Regions from separate parts of the Homo sapiens genome. Here region 1 is linked to region 2. The links are contacts of gene promoters, found by promoter capture Hi-C in human tissues and cell types (Jung and others, 2019). All regions are on one chromosome and are shown on one strand. The core of a region is centred on a gene start or on the middle of the fragment in contact, and the rest is flanking DNA. Distances in the headings are between cores, read along the strand shown.

What was found. Contacts are between HindIII fragments. The study calls those that stand out against the background at their distance.
Region 1: a fragment that was not itself captured here is called in contact with the fragment with the promoter of GSDMB in region 2 in 1 of the 25 tissues and cell types used here (bladder).

Annotation. Positions count from the first base shown.
Region 1 is chr17:40,167,779-40,173,960 of GRCh38, reverse strand. CASC3 (CASC3 exon junction complex subunit) reads right to left here. Exons shown (of 14, transcript NM_007359.5): 10 at 6,013-6,111; 11 at 5,544-5,758; 12 at 4,515-4,637; 13 at 4,299-4,363; 14 at 1,790-3,514. The coding sequence ends at 4,340. Among named protein-coding and RNA genes, the nearest start is that of RAPGEFL1, 6.6 kb to the left of the region's middle. RefSeq lists an enhancer at 5,338-5,897. The HindIII fragment of the contact is 3,465 bases long and covers 1,180-4,644 here.
Region 2 is chr17:39,916,654-39,922,206 of GRCh38, reverse strand. GSDMB (gasdermin B) reads left to right here and starts at 3,572. Exons shown (of 11, transcript NM_001165958.2): 1 at 3,572-3,673; 2 at 4,877-5,125. The coding sequence starts at 4,891. ORMDL3 (ORMDL sphingolipid biosynthesis regulator 3) reads left to right here. Exons shown (of 4, transcript NM_139280.4): 4 at 1-1,164. RefSeq lists a cis regulatory region at 3,306-3,319, promoters at 3,298-3,660, 4,384-4,792, 4,343-4,972 and an enhancer at 5,524-5,553. The HindIII fragment of the contact is 12,682 bases long and covers 192-5,553 here.

The sequences.
Region 1 (6,182 bases), core at 1,663-4,162, 250 kb before region 2:
TTTCAGCTACTTGAGAGGCTGAGGTGGGTGGATTGATTGAGCCCAGGTGGTCAAAGCTGCAGTGAGCCACGATTGTGCCATTGCACTCCAGCCTGGGCAATAGAGCAAGACCAAAAAAAAAAAAAAAAAAAAAAAAAAGATGTACTATGATATCTATGCCTCCCGTGTATGGATTTGTGAAACCCAACAAATGCTGCCAGCTCCATATGAAAGTTGCTCTCCCATACCAGAGATAGCTTCTGTAGTAAACTTCCATCCCACCCAGGACCTAGAGGAAAAAGTCACTTCAAAGGTAGGAACTGCCCTCTAAGCATCAAAGGCCAAGTGGACTAGGTAAACTGAATTATGACCCACAGTTGATTTGTTTTTTGAAATCATGTGTCCAGGCAGGTTATGTTATCTGTCCATTTCACTTTGGGATATTAGTGTTGCAAAATATTTGTTATAAGAAAGGAACATTGGGGCTGGGTGTAGTGGCTTGCACATGTAATCCCAGCACTCTAGGAGGCTAAGACAGGAGGATCATTTGAACCAAGGCGTTCCAGACTAGCCTGGGTAACACACTGAGACCTCGTCTCTACTAAAAACAAACCACAAAAATTAGCTGGGCATGGTGGTGTGGGCCTGTAGTCACAGCTATTTGGGAAGCTGTGGCAAGATTGCTTGAACCTTGGAGTTCCAAGTTACAGCAACCTATGATTGTGCTACTGCATTCCAGCCTGGGTGACGGGCAAGACCGTCTCAGAAAAAAAAAAAAAAGTGACTTTGGATCTGGTAGGGTGGAGAGCCACTGGCAAGGACATTAAGAACACAGACTCAGACTTGGCCTTGGGAGGCCAAGGCAGGTGGGTCACCTAAGGTCAGGAGTTCAAGACCAGCCTGGCCAACATGGTGAAACCCCATTGCTACTAAAAATACAAAATTTGTTGTACAAAAAATACAAAAATTTCTACTAAAAATACACACACACACACACACACACACACACACAAATTCCCTTCCCCTTACCTGAGCTGATAGTCTCTCTAAGACTGTGTGGTCCTGAATACTTTAGTGTCAGCATCTTTACTTTTCCTTTTTTTTTTTTTTTTTTTTGAGACGGAGTCTCACTCTGTCGCCCAGGCTGGAATGCAGTGGCGCAATCTCGGCTCACTGCAAGCTCCACCTCCCGGGTTCCCATCATTCTCCTGCCTCAGCCTCCCAAGTAGCTGGGACTACAGGCACCCGCCACCACTCCCAGCTATTTTTGTATTTTTAGTAGAGGCAGTGTTTCACCCTGTTTAGCCAGGATGGTCTCGATCTCCCTGATCGAGATCTGCCCACCTCGGCCTCCCTAAGTGCTGGGATTACAGGCGTGAGCCACGGTGGCCAGCAGCATCTTCACTTTTCAAGAAAGCTAGCTACCTGTACTTCCCCCCAACCCAGGACTTGGTATAGTTATATTGACATCTGATGGCATATTACCTTGGGAAACTTACTTGCCAAACACAAAGGAAGCCATAAAGGATACTAGATGCTCATGTGAATAACCAGCATCTCACTACTTTTCTGTCCCTGACACTTCCAATCTAAGGGATGGCATGACATCCTGGTGATCTATGTGGTTAAAAAAGATAACTGATGGGGAGTGCAGACACATTTATGGCCTCATAGGGGCTCCTCATCTCTCTGGGCTTCTGTTTCACAACTTGGGCTGACCTGAGTTGTGACCGTGACCCTGTGGGGGAATTAGGGAGTCCTCTTCCCTCCCTCCCAAATCAAGACTCATGCAAAACACTGGCAAGGGAGCCAAGTTTATAGTCTAAATTTTATTATCTCCAAGTCACAATGCTGATCACAAATGGGCACCCTTTAAAACAGTAACAAAAAACACCACCACACATGGAAAAATCCTTGCAACTAAACACAGTGGACCAACAGAGACAACTCTCACAGTGTCTTAAGGTCTGGGAATCTGGGCATGCTGCCCACAGGCTTGAGGAGACATCTTCAGGTTTAAGGCAAAGGGAACAGCCTACAAAAGGCACAACCACCAGCTACCCCTAGAAGAATCTCTTAGTTATTTCCTCCTTGGGGGTTACAGATTAAGTGCCTCTCCCCACTCTCCATCCCACACCTGTGACTCAGAGTGATTAGGCCAGCTGCTAGATGGAAGGAATAAAAACAGTGACATTACCGGGGAGAGACACAGCCACCATCTTTGCCCTCAGGTTCTGTAGAAGGACAGGGACAGTGGCCAGGTTACCCCTGGCAGACGTATGTACTGCAGTAATAGGAATCTCTTCCACAGAGGCAGCAGAGAAGTGGTTTAGTGCCATGGATAGGGAGGAAAGATAGGAGCCCTTGCCCAGAAGGTGACTGGCTTCCTTAGGCCTTAAGCCCAGGAGTTTTTATATTCTGTCTGCAAGGACAAAAATAGAATTCGGGGAAAATAAGGTAGTAACATCTAAAACACTTGTAGCAGGAAAGACGTGGAGAAGAGCAATTGCAAAGGACAGGGTAGACTGCTTGCTGGATAATATTTGCCTTTAAAGAGATGCATTGGTCCACAGCAACTGGAAAAGGGGTGTAGCAAGAAGAATGGAAAGAAGAGAAGCAAGGCCCTCTAATTCCACTTACCTCAAAAGACTGAGCCCTGAGGACTATGTGAATACACACCCCTAAAGGCAAAGGCTCTCACTCCACCATCCCTTTCTCACAAAAGCATCTGGTGTGCCATCTCTCCCCACAGTAGGGTATTGGCCCTCAGCAGAGAACAGAAGCCCATCATAGTACAGGTATTGATGGATGCTCAGACTCCTAAAAACCTAAGTCAAAGAGAAGGGCTCCTACCCACCTACTCTGAGCTTTTCTGCACAATGGGACCCTCTGTGCAGACAGCCATGCTTCCACAGGGTTAGAGTTAAGGGAATACAAGTATACAAGAGGATAACAAATGCCAACTAAAAGTGAAAGGCCAGGTCTTTTTAGACTTGGTGGGGAAGGCTGGCTGATACATTCTCCATTATCTGGGATGCACGGAAGAGTCAAAAGGGAATCCAGAGGGGCTAGAAAACCAGAAGACTAGACTTGTTTCATTTAAAGGCAGGGAGAGAGAGCAAGAAACAGAAACAAAGAGAAAAAATTAAAATAATATTAAGGATAAGAAGCCAGGCTTTAAAAATGAACATCTTAGAAAACAAAACAAACAGGAAGGAGCTTCCTTGGGAACAGAAGACACTTCAATTTCCCAGAAGTGAAGAACAGCAGAAGACATGGGCTTCTGTATCTAGACTCAGAAGCTTGGGGCTGTCTGGCTCTCTCTGCTCCCCCGAACACAGCCAACTCAAGTGAAGAGTGAAGATGGGACGAGGTCCACTTGTTTCTCCCTCTCTCTAGAGCCTGTCCTCAGAGGAAGGCAGGGGTCCTCCTCTTTCAGCTGTTTGCTGGTAGGAGCCACACCCTATATCTTTGAAGCCCTTCTGGTAGTAGATAGCCAGCTGTATTTCTCTTCTGAGTTCTCACCTCTGCTGCTCTGACAGGGGTTGGAAAAAGGGAAGAACCACCAAAGTGTTAGTGGGCCTTCTGGGCATTCACAAGCTGTTTTCAAAAAGCCACACTTCTAAATAATGTGTTTTAAGTAATGTCCTTAAACAAAAGCAACAAAACCCCCAGTCCTTCTCCTCTATGATCTTTAGAACTGGTTTTTTCTGCTATAACATCTCAAATTTAGATTTCCCTTTTCCTTGACTGCCTTCCTGTATTTTTTCCTTGTAGCTTCCCAATTGAAAACTGTCATGTTAACAATCGTTTCTACTTCAACCCTGCCCAATACACTTGCCAAACAAACAAACTGGCAAATTTCAGGACTCCTTTAAGCCTCCTGAGATATCCCATGATTATTATAACTTAAAGCATTAATCAGAGGCTGGGTGGGGTGGCTCACACCTGTAATCCCAACACTTTGGGAGGCCAAGGCAGGTGGATCACCTGAGGTCAGGAGTTCAAGACCAGCCTGGCCAATATGGTGAAACCCCATTCCCACTAAAAATACAAAAATTAGCCAGGTGTGGTGGTGCGTGCCTGTAATCCTAGCTACTTAGGAGGCTGAGGCAAGAGAATCGCTTGAACTCAGGAGATGGAGGTTGCAGTGAGCCGAGATTGCACCACTGCACTCCAGCCTGGATAACAGACTGAGACGCCGTCTCAAAAAAAAAAAAAAAAAAAAAAAAAAAAAAAGCATTAATTAAGTGATTTTTGTTTATTAAGCAAGTGTGAGCATTAGTTTTAACAATATTCACAGTAAGTTGTGCACTTACTTTTATATGATGTTAAGATTTAAAATATTCAGAAACTTGTATTAACTGGAACCCCTGCTTACAACCTGAAATAACAAAGTTGGAATTTGTTATCAGGTCATAACAAAAAGACTGTTTTCCAGAGAAACACACCCAGAAAATGAGGGAAATCCTCTGGGGAGAAGGAAAGCCCACTGACGGAGCATGTGCATTAAGTATAGGAAGGAACTCTCATACCTCAGGTGGAGGGGGCTTGATGGTGACTGGCTGGGGAGTCCTCCGGGGTGGGGAGGGCTTTGGCTGCACCTGCTGCTGGGCGGGGTTATAGTAGGTCACTCCTCCATATACCTGTGATGGGGCCTGGGACCCCACAAGCCAGGAGAAGAAAAAGTTAGGAATGAATTCATCCAACCTATGATGAACAGGAAATATTATTCAGCCATAAGAGAATTGGGGAATTTATAATTTTAAAAATATCTAATCTGCCCACCCTTCAAAATAAAGTGACTATTCATTTTTGCCTTAATTCTTCATTATTATGCTCTGGTTTTTATTTCTTCAAAGTACTGCCCAGCTTTCTCTAATTCCTACCATCAGCTGACAAATGGAAAAGGCTGAGTTCAGTAGCGACACTACAGATACTTGATTATGTCAACGTGGTGGAAGTTAAGCAGGACAGAGGTAGGGGTGATAAGGAGTAGAATACAGCTTCTTTATGCAATAGAGTAAAAACCAGGTATTGCCACCTATGATGTACCACAACACAGGAAAGAAACACCATTAAAGAAACTGAACGCTGGGTGCGGTGGCTTATGCCTGTAATCCCAGCACTTTCGGAGGCCGAGGCAGGTGGATCGGTTGAGGTCAGGAGTTTGAGACCAGCTTGGCCAACATGGTGAAACGCCATCTCTACTAGAAATACAAAAACTAGCCGGGCATGGTGGCAGGCACTGTAATCCCAGCTACTCGGGAGGCTGAGGCAGAAGAATCGCTTGAACCCAAGAGGTGGAGGTTACAGTGAACCGAGATCACGCCACTGCACTCCAAGCCTGGGCAACGGAGAAAAAAACTGAAAAGAATAAAGATGATGGGCATTACATAAGCTGCATTTCCAGCTCCTGACCACTAAGAGGCGTCTTGGTGTCACATACAAATCAGTGGCACTGAAAATGTTCTCTCAAATTCCTTTAGCATTCTCCCCATACCACATTCCTGTCTGAATTAAAGAATGTGTATCTAGAAAAACATGATCATTAGCCATCTCACCTGTGTATTAGGATACAGATGAGGCGGTGGTGGGGGAGGCAGTGCCCCTGGAGCATAAGGGTAACTGGGATTACCAAAGTTCATGACGCCTGGAGCAGAAAAGTAAGTAGGAGCAAGCAACTGCTGAGGTGGTGGCTGTCCTGGAGACATGGACACTGGTGGGGGATAGAGGCCTGGATTGGGCAGAGGAGCTGGTGTCTGGTGGGGATGTAAACCTGGATAAGGAGAAGAAAAAAACTGAAAAATAAAGTAACATCATTTTCACAGGATGGCCCGGCTGGACTGCTCAGTATAATCAGGCTCAGAATGGAAGTCCTCAGGATGGACACAAGAGGAACTTGTTGCCCAAGCAGCCAGGATGGCCAGACTCCCAGGCTAGCAGCACAAAGCTCAGGAGGATGGGTTTTGTGGCACTCCCAACATATATCCTCAGGTACTGGAAGCATATAAGCAGAGACACAAAGCTTACCTGGGTGGGGAAGGTTCATTCCTGGCTGCACAAGCATGCCCTGTGGAGGCAGCGGGGCAGGGCTGTCACCATGGGTATAGATTGGTCCCTGGAACTGCACTGTAAGATATCACATTGGGACTCTCATAAACCCTTACTCTTCACATGGACAAGTCTCCTTGTTCCCCAAG
Region 2 (5,553 bases), core at 2,323-4,822:
TCACTTGTTTGCCCTCAGGCAGCCAAAGCACTTTAACCCCTGCATAGGGAGCAGAGGGCGGTACGGCTTCTGGATTGTTTCACTGTGATTCCTAGGTTTTTTCGATGCCACGCAGTGTGTGCTTTTGTGTATGGAAGCAAGTGTGGGATGGGTCTTTGCCTTTCTGGGTAGGGAGCTGTCTAATCCAAGTCCCAGGCTTTTGGCAGCTTCTCTGCAACCCACCGTGGGTCCTGGTTGGGAGTGGGGAGGGTCAGGTTGGGGAAAGATGGGGTAGAGTGTAGATGGCTTGGTTCCAGAGGTGAGGGGGCCAGGGCTGCTGCCATCCTGGCCTGGTGGAGGTTGGGGAGCTGTAGGAGAGCTAGTGAGTCGAGACTTAGAAGAATGGGGCCACATAGCAGCAGAGGACTGGTGTAAGGGAGGGAGGGGTAGGGACAGAAGCTAGACCCAATCTCCTTTGGGATGTGGGCAGGGAGGGAAGCAGGCTTGGAGGGTTAATTTACCCACAGAATGTGATAGTAATAGGGGAGGGAGGCTGCTGTGGGTTTAACTCCTGGGTTGGCTGTTGGGTAGACAGGTGGGGAAAAGGCCCGTGAGTCATTGTAAGCACAGGTCCAACTTGGCCCTGACTCCTGCGGGGGTATGGGGAAGCTGTGACAGAAACGATGGGTGCTGTGGTCCTCTGCAGGCCCTCACCCCTTAACTTCCTCATACAGACTGGCACTGGGCAGGGCCTCTCATGTGGCAGCCACATGTGGCGTTGTGAGGCCACCCCATGTGGGGTCTGTGGTGAGAGTCCTGTAGGATCCCTGCTCAAGCAGCACAGAGGAAGGGGCAAGACGTGGCCTGTAGGCACTGTCTCAGCCTGCAGAGAAGAAAGTGAGGCCGGGAGCCTGAGCCTGGGCTGGAGCCTTCTCCCCTCCCCAGTTGGACTAGGGGCAGTGTTAATTTTGAAAAGGTGTGGGTCCCTGTGTCCTCTTCCAGGGGTCCAAGGGAACGGGAGAGGTCACTGGGCCTGTTTTCTCCCTCCTGACCCTGCATCTCCCACCCCGTGTATCATAGGGAACTTTCACCTTAAAATCTTTCTAAGCAAAGTGTGAATAGGATTTTTACTCCCTTTGTACAGTATTCTGAGAAACGCAAATAAAAGGGCAACATGTTTCTGTTTCCCTGTGTCTGGCCTTCGCTTCCTGGAAGGCTGAGGGGAGGGGGCAGGGGTGTGGGCAGCGGCTCCCGCTGAGGTGCTGGTGGGGCATCAGTGCAGCTCTGACGGTGGCAGGAGGGGCGCTGGGACTGCTGGGCTTTCTGCTGGCTTCAGCAGGGAAATCCCCCAAGGGGGCTGTGAGGGAACTGGCGGCGGCAGCGGTAGTCAGAGAGCAAAATTCTCTGTGCTTTTGCCTGGCTGTTCTCCGACAGGTCTTGCGCCTTGGCCCCAGAGGCTGGGGTGACCTGTGCCATGGCCAAGGAGGGGGACACTCCAGCAATGGTTTACACGTGGAGCCAGGGTCCCAAGTGGTGCTCAGTCCTTCCCAGTGAATCCCCAGCCCTTCTCCAGTTTCTCACTTCTCTCCCCAAGGCCTTTCCCCAGTCACCTCTCCCTTGGGAGCGCTGCGTTTCCTTCTGGCCTTTCAGTGGAGGGGACTTTTCATACTTCCTCCTCCCACCATAAGCCTGAGTGGCAGGGGAAGAGGTTCTGGGGACTTTCTGAGGCCAACATGGCTAGGAGAGAGAGGAGTCCTATAGCAAGGAATCCTTATCTCACGAGGGCACTGACCTTCCAGCGTGTTCTGGGGAGTATCAGCTGCTATTCCCAGGAGAGGCACAAAGTCCCAGGTAGAAGGGAGGAGCTGTCCCCAGCAGCCTGGGGTCTCTAGCCCCGGTCCACCATCACAGCACCCTTGGAGTGAGTGTCAGGGAGTGTGGGATATTTGCCCAAGTCCAGCCACCACCCCTGTCCGAGTAGAGCCCACACAGTATTGGAAAGAGAAATATAGCCACTGCTTTCACTCCTGGGAGTAGGGGTGCCCTGGTTGCTTTCACCAGCCTGCAAGAGTATAGTCAGGGTGAGGTGCTGGAGAACATCAACAACGATCTGGGTTCAAATCCCAGCTTTGCCACTTATTAGCCATGTTGCTGTGTCAACTTCTCTGAGCTTCAGTTTATTCCACTGTTGTGTAAAGATAATGCCTCTTAGGGCTGTTGTGAGCATTAGCACAGTGCCTGGCATATAGTAAATACTCAATATATGGTAGCCATATTATTATAATTGTAATTGTTACTACCACCACTGTCGTCTATTTATTTATTTATTTATTTATTTTTTTGAGACTGAGTCTTGCTCTGTTGCCCAGGCTGGAGTGCAGTGGCACCATCTTGGCTCACTGCAACCTCCGCCTCCCAGGTTCAAGCAATTCTCATGCCTCAGCCTCCTGAGTAGCTGGGATTACAGGTGTGTGCCAAAACATCTGGCTAATTTTTTTTTTTTTTTTTTTTTTGGTAGAGACGGGGTTTCGCCATGTTGGCCAGGCTGGTCTTGAACTCCTGGCCTCAAGTGATCTGCCTGCTTCGGCCTCTGAAAGTGTTGGGATTACAGGCATGAACCACCACGCCTGGCCTGTCATCCCTTCAAATGTTCTTTCAGAACTGAGGCATGCAGAGGCTGGAAGACAGGCTGGGCTCACCGGGGTGGTTATCTCTGAGAGAGGACATGGGTGAGGTCAGAGGCCTCTCCCTGGAGAAGGAGGTAGGTGGAGAAGCCAGATGGCATCCAGATAAGGAAGACCAGCATCTCCTTGAGAGTGTACACGGGAGCACGAGATGGGGAGGGAGGCTGAGTGCTCCTTACAGGCCCACCCTGTTGCCTCCAGGTGTTAGCTGCTGTTGTCCTGGGTCTTCAGTGTTGACCGTCGCATGGCATTTGGGCAGCTGGTTCTGCTGGGTTATGGTCCTCATGTCCCTGGCACAGACACAGCCATTGCCTGCTGGCACTTGATACCTACTCATATTCCATTTCTCTATTCCAAACACACTGGATTGCATGGCCCAGGGCGCCACGGTGTGCACCATTGTCTGGCCCACACTCACCTAGAATACATACCAGGATCTCCTACCCACTCCTTAGGTACAAGAAGAAGAAGGGGTTCTGGCCGGGCATGGTGGCTCACACCTGTAATCCCAGCACTTTGAGAGGCCGAGGTGGGTGGGTCACAAGGTCAGGAGATTGAGACCATCCTGGCTAACACGGTGAAACCCCGTCTCTACTAAAAAACACACACAAAAAAATTAGCTGGGCGTGGTGGCAGGCACCTGTAGTCCCAGCTACTCGGGAGGCTGAGGCAGGAGAATGGCGTGAACTTGGGAGGCGGAGCTTGCAGTGAGCCGAGATTGCGCCATTGCACTCCAGCCTCGGCGATAGAGCAAGACTCCGTCTCAAAAAAAAAAAAAAAAGGGGGGTTCTGGCCTTAATCTGCCTCCAGCTCAGTTATAAGGTGGCTTATCTAAAGGCTTGGGAGGTGGGGCACCCAGCCCTACCCACCCGTCCAGGAAGTTCCACACCTGGACAACTTTCAGTTTCATTATTTTAGCTTCCTGAGATTCAGAGGCCAGGAACTGTGCAGAGATCTGTGGGGATTCTCACAACTTCCATTTCTGGTGAACAGCTGAGGTCAGAGAGGAGGTGGGTACCACTTGAGATGGGCCTGTGGTTCCCGGGTACTGTCTTTCCAGACACCTAGAATTCCCAGGTTGGTAGTGAACTGAGAGTCAACCACCATGATGGGGCCAGAGACAGAGGAGGAAGCAGTGAGTGGATAAGTGCCTGTGCTGGGCAGAAGGGATATAGGGGAAGGTGGCCAAAGGTAGGATGGGGAAGTGGATCCCAGGAAGCTTTTGTTTCTTCTGAGGCCAATTTACCACCACCTCATTGGGAAATTGTTGGTAGGGAGGCACCCATCCAATTGCCTTGCAGAATACAGCAAGGCAGGGAGCCCAAGAATCAGAGCCAAGGGAAGAAACGACCAGTTGAGGTTAGTAATGTGAAGTCTGGCAACCGTGCCCGTCATTCCTCCCTGGTTCCTCTGTTCATCAACGTTGGGGCTAGTCTGGCTGGGGCATGGTGGGCCTGCCTTTCCATCCCTTGGGCCCCTTGGAACAAGGGGGCAACTCTGCTGTGGGAGATGTAGAAAATGGGTCTCACTTTCTCTATTTGGGGCAATAGCTGCTACTTTTTTCCTCCAGATGGGTACCATGAGGGGCAGAGGAGAATCTGGGATCTGTGATGTTTAGCCCTCTTTACTGAGTCATGGCTGCCTCACGTTCTAGAAGTAAGGCAGGCAAATCATTCCAGGTACTGATTGTCCTGGAACCTTTGGCTCTTCCTTGACCTCATGTCACGTGCGTCCATGTGAAGAGAGTCCACGAAACGGGCTTTATATGAGCAACAAGGCTGGGTGCAGGCAAGCTGAGTCCAAAAAAGGGGTCAGCAAAGGGTGGTGGCATTATCATTAGTTCTTATATGTTTGGGATAGGCTTACAAAGTACATTCTCAAGGGTGGAGAAATATTACAAAGTACCTTCTTAAGGGCAGGGGAGAATATTACAAAGTACCTTCTTAAGGGCGGCGGCGGGGAGACTATATTGTATCAGGGTGGGGCAGGAACAAATCACAATGGTGGAATGTCATCAGTTAAGGCTATTTTCATTTCTTTTGTGGATCTTCAGTTGCTTCAGGCCATCTGGATGTATACATGCAGGTCACAGGGAATATGATGGCTTAGCTTGGGTTCAGAGGCCTGACACCTCAGGCTGCCAAATGTGGAAGATTTAAATACTTGAACCAATACCCTCCTCCCAAAAACTGAAATTGGCTTCTGTTTCTGAGTTGGTCCAGGCGCAATGTTCAGCGTATTTGAGGAAATCACAAGAATTGTAGTTAAGGAGATGGATGCTGGAGGGGATATGATTGCCGTTAGAAGCCTTGTTGATGCTGATAGATTCCGCTGCTTCCATCTGGTGGGGGAGAAGAGAACTTTCTTTGGATGCCGGCACTACACAACAGGCCTCACCCTGATGGACATTCTGGACACAGATGGGGACAAGTGGTTAGATGAACTGGATTCTGGGCTCCAAGGTCAGTATAAGGTAGATGACAGGTGGCCAGCCAGGAGGCCTTGACCGTTTGTACTCCATCTCCTTCTCAATTCCCCATTGTTATCAACCAATCAACAACGAAACTGTGGGATTTGTACACATCCACACACCTTAATTTAAGAAATGCACGGAAGAGCTGCATGGTGGGAGGAGAGTGGGAGAAGTGGAGATTTATTTCCACTGGAAACCGTTCCTAAATGGTCTTCCTTTTCCATTTTTTCCCTTGTAAAATAATCTGCTTTTAATTTAGCGAGCTCTTCTCATGTGTTTATCATTTAAATGAATAAGTAAATGAGGGCAGTTTGCTTACTGGTTAAGAAAGGATGCAGGCTTTAGGGCTGGAAGCACCTGGTTTCAAAGCCTGGCTCTGCCTCTTATCAGCTGCGTAACCTTTGGACAAGTTGTTTT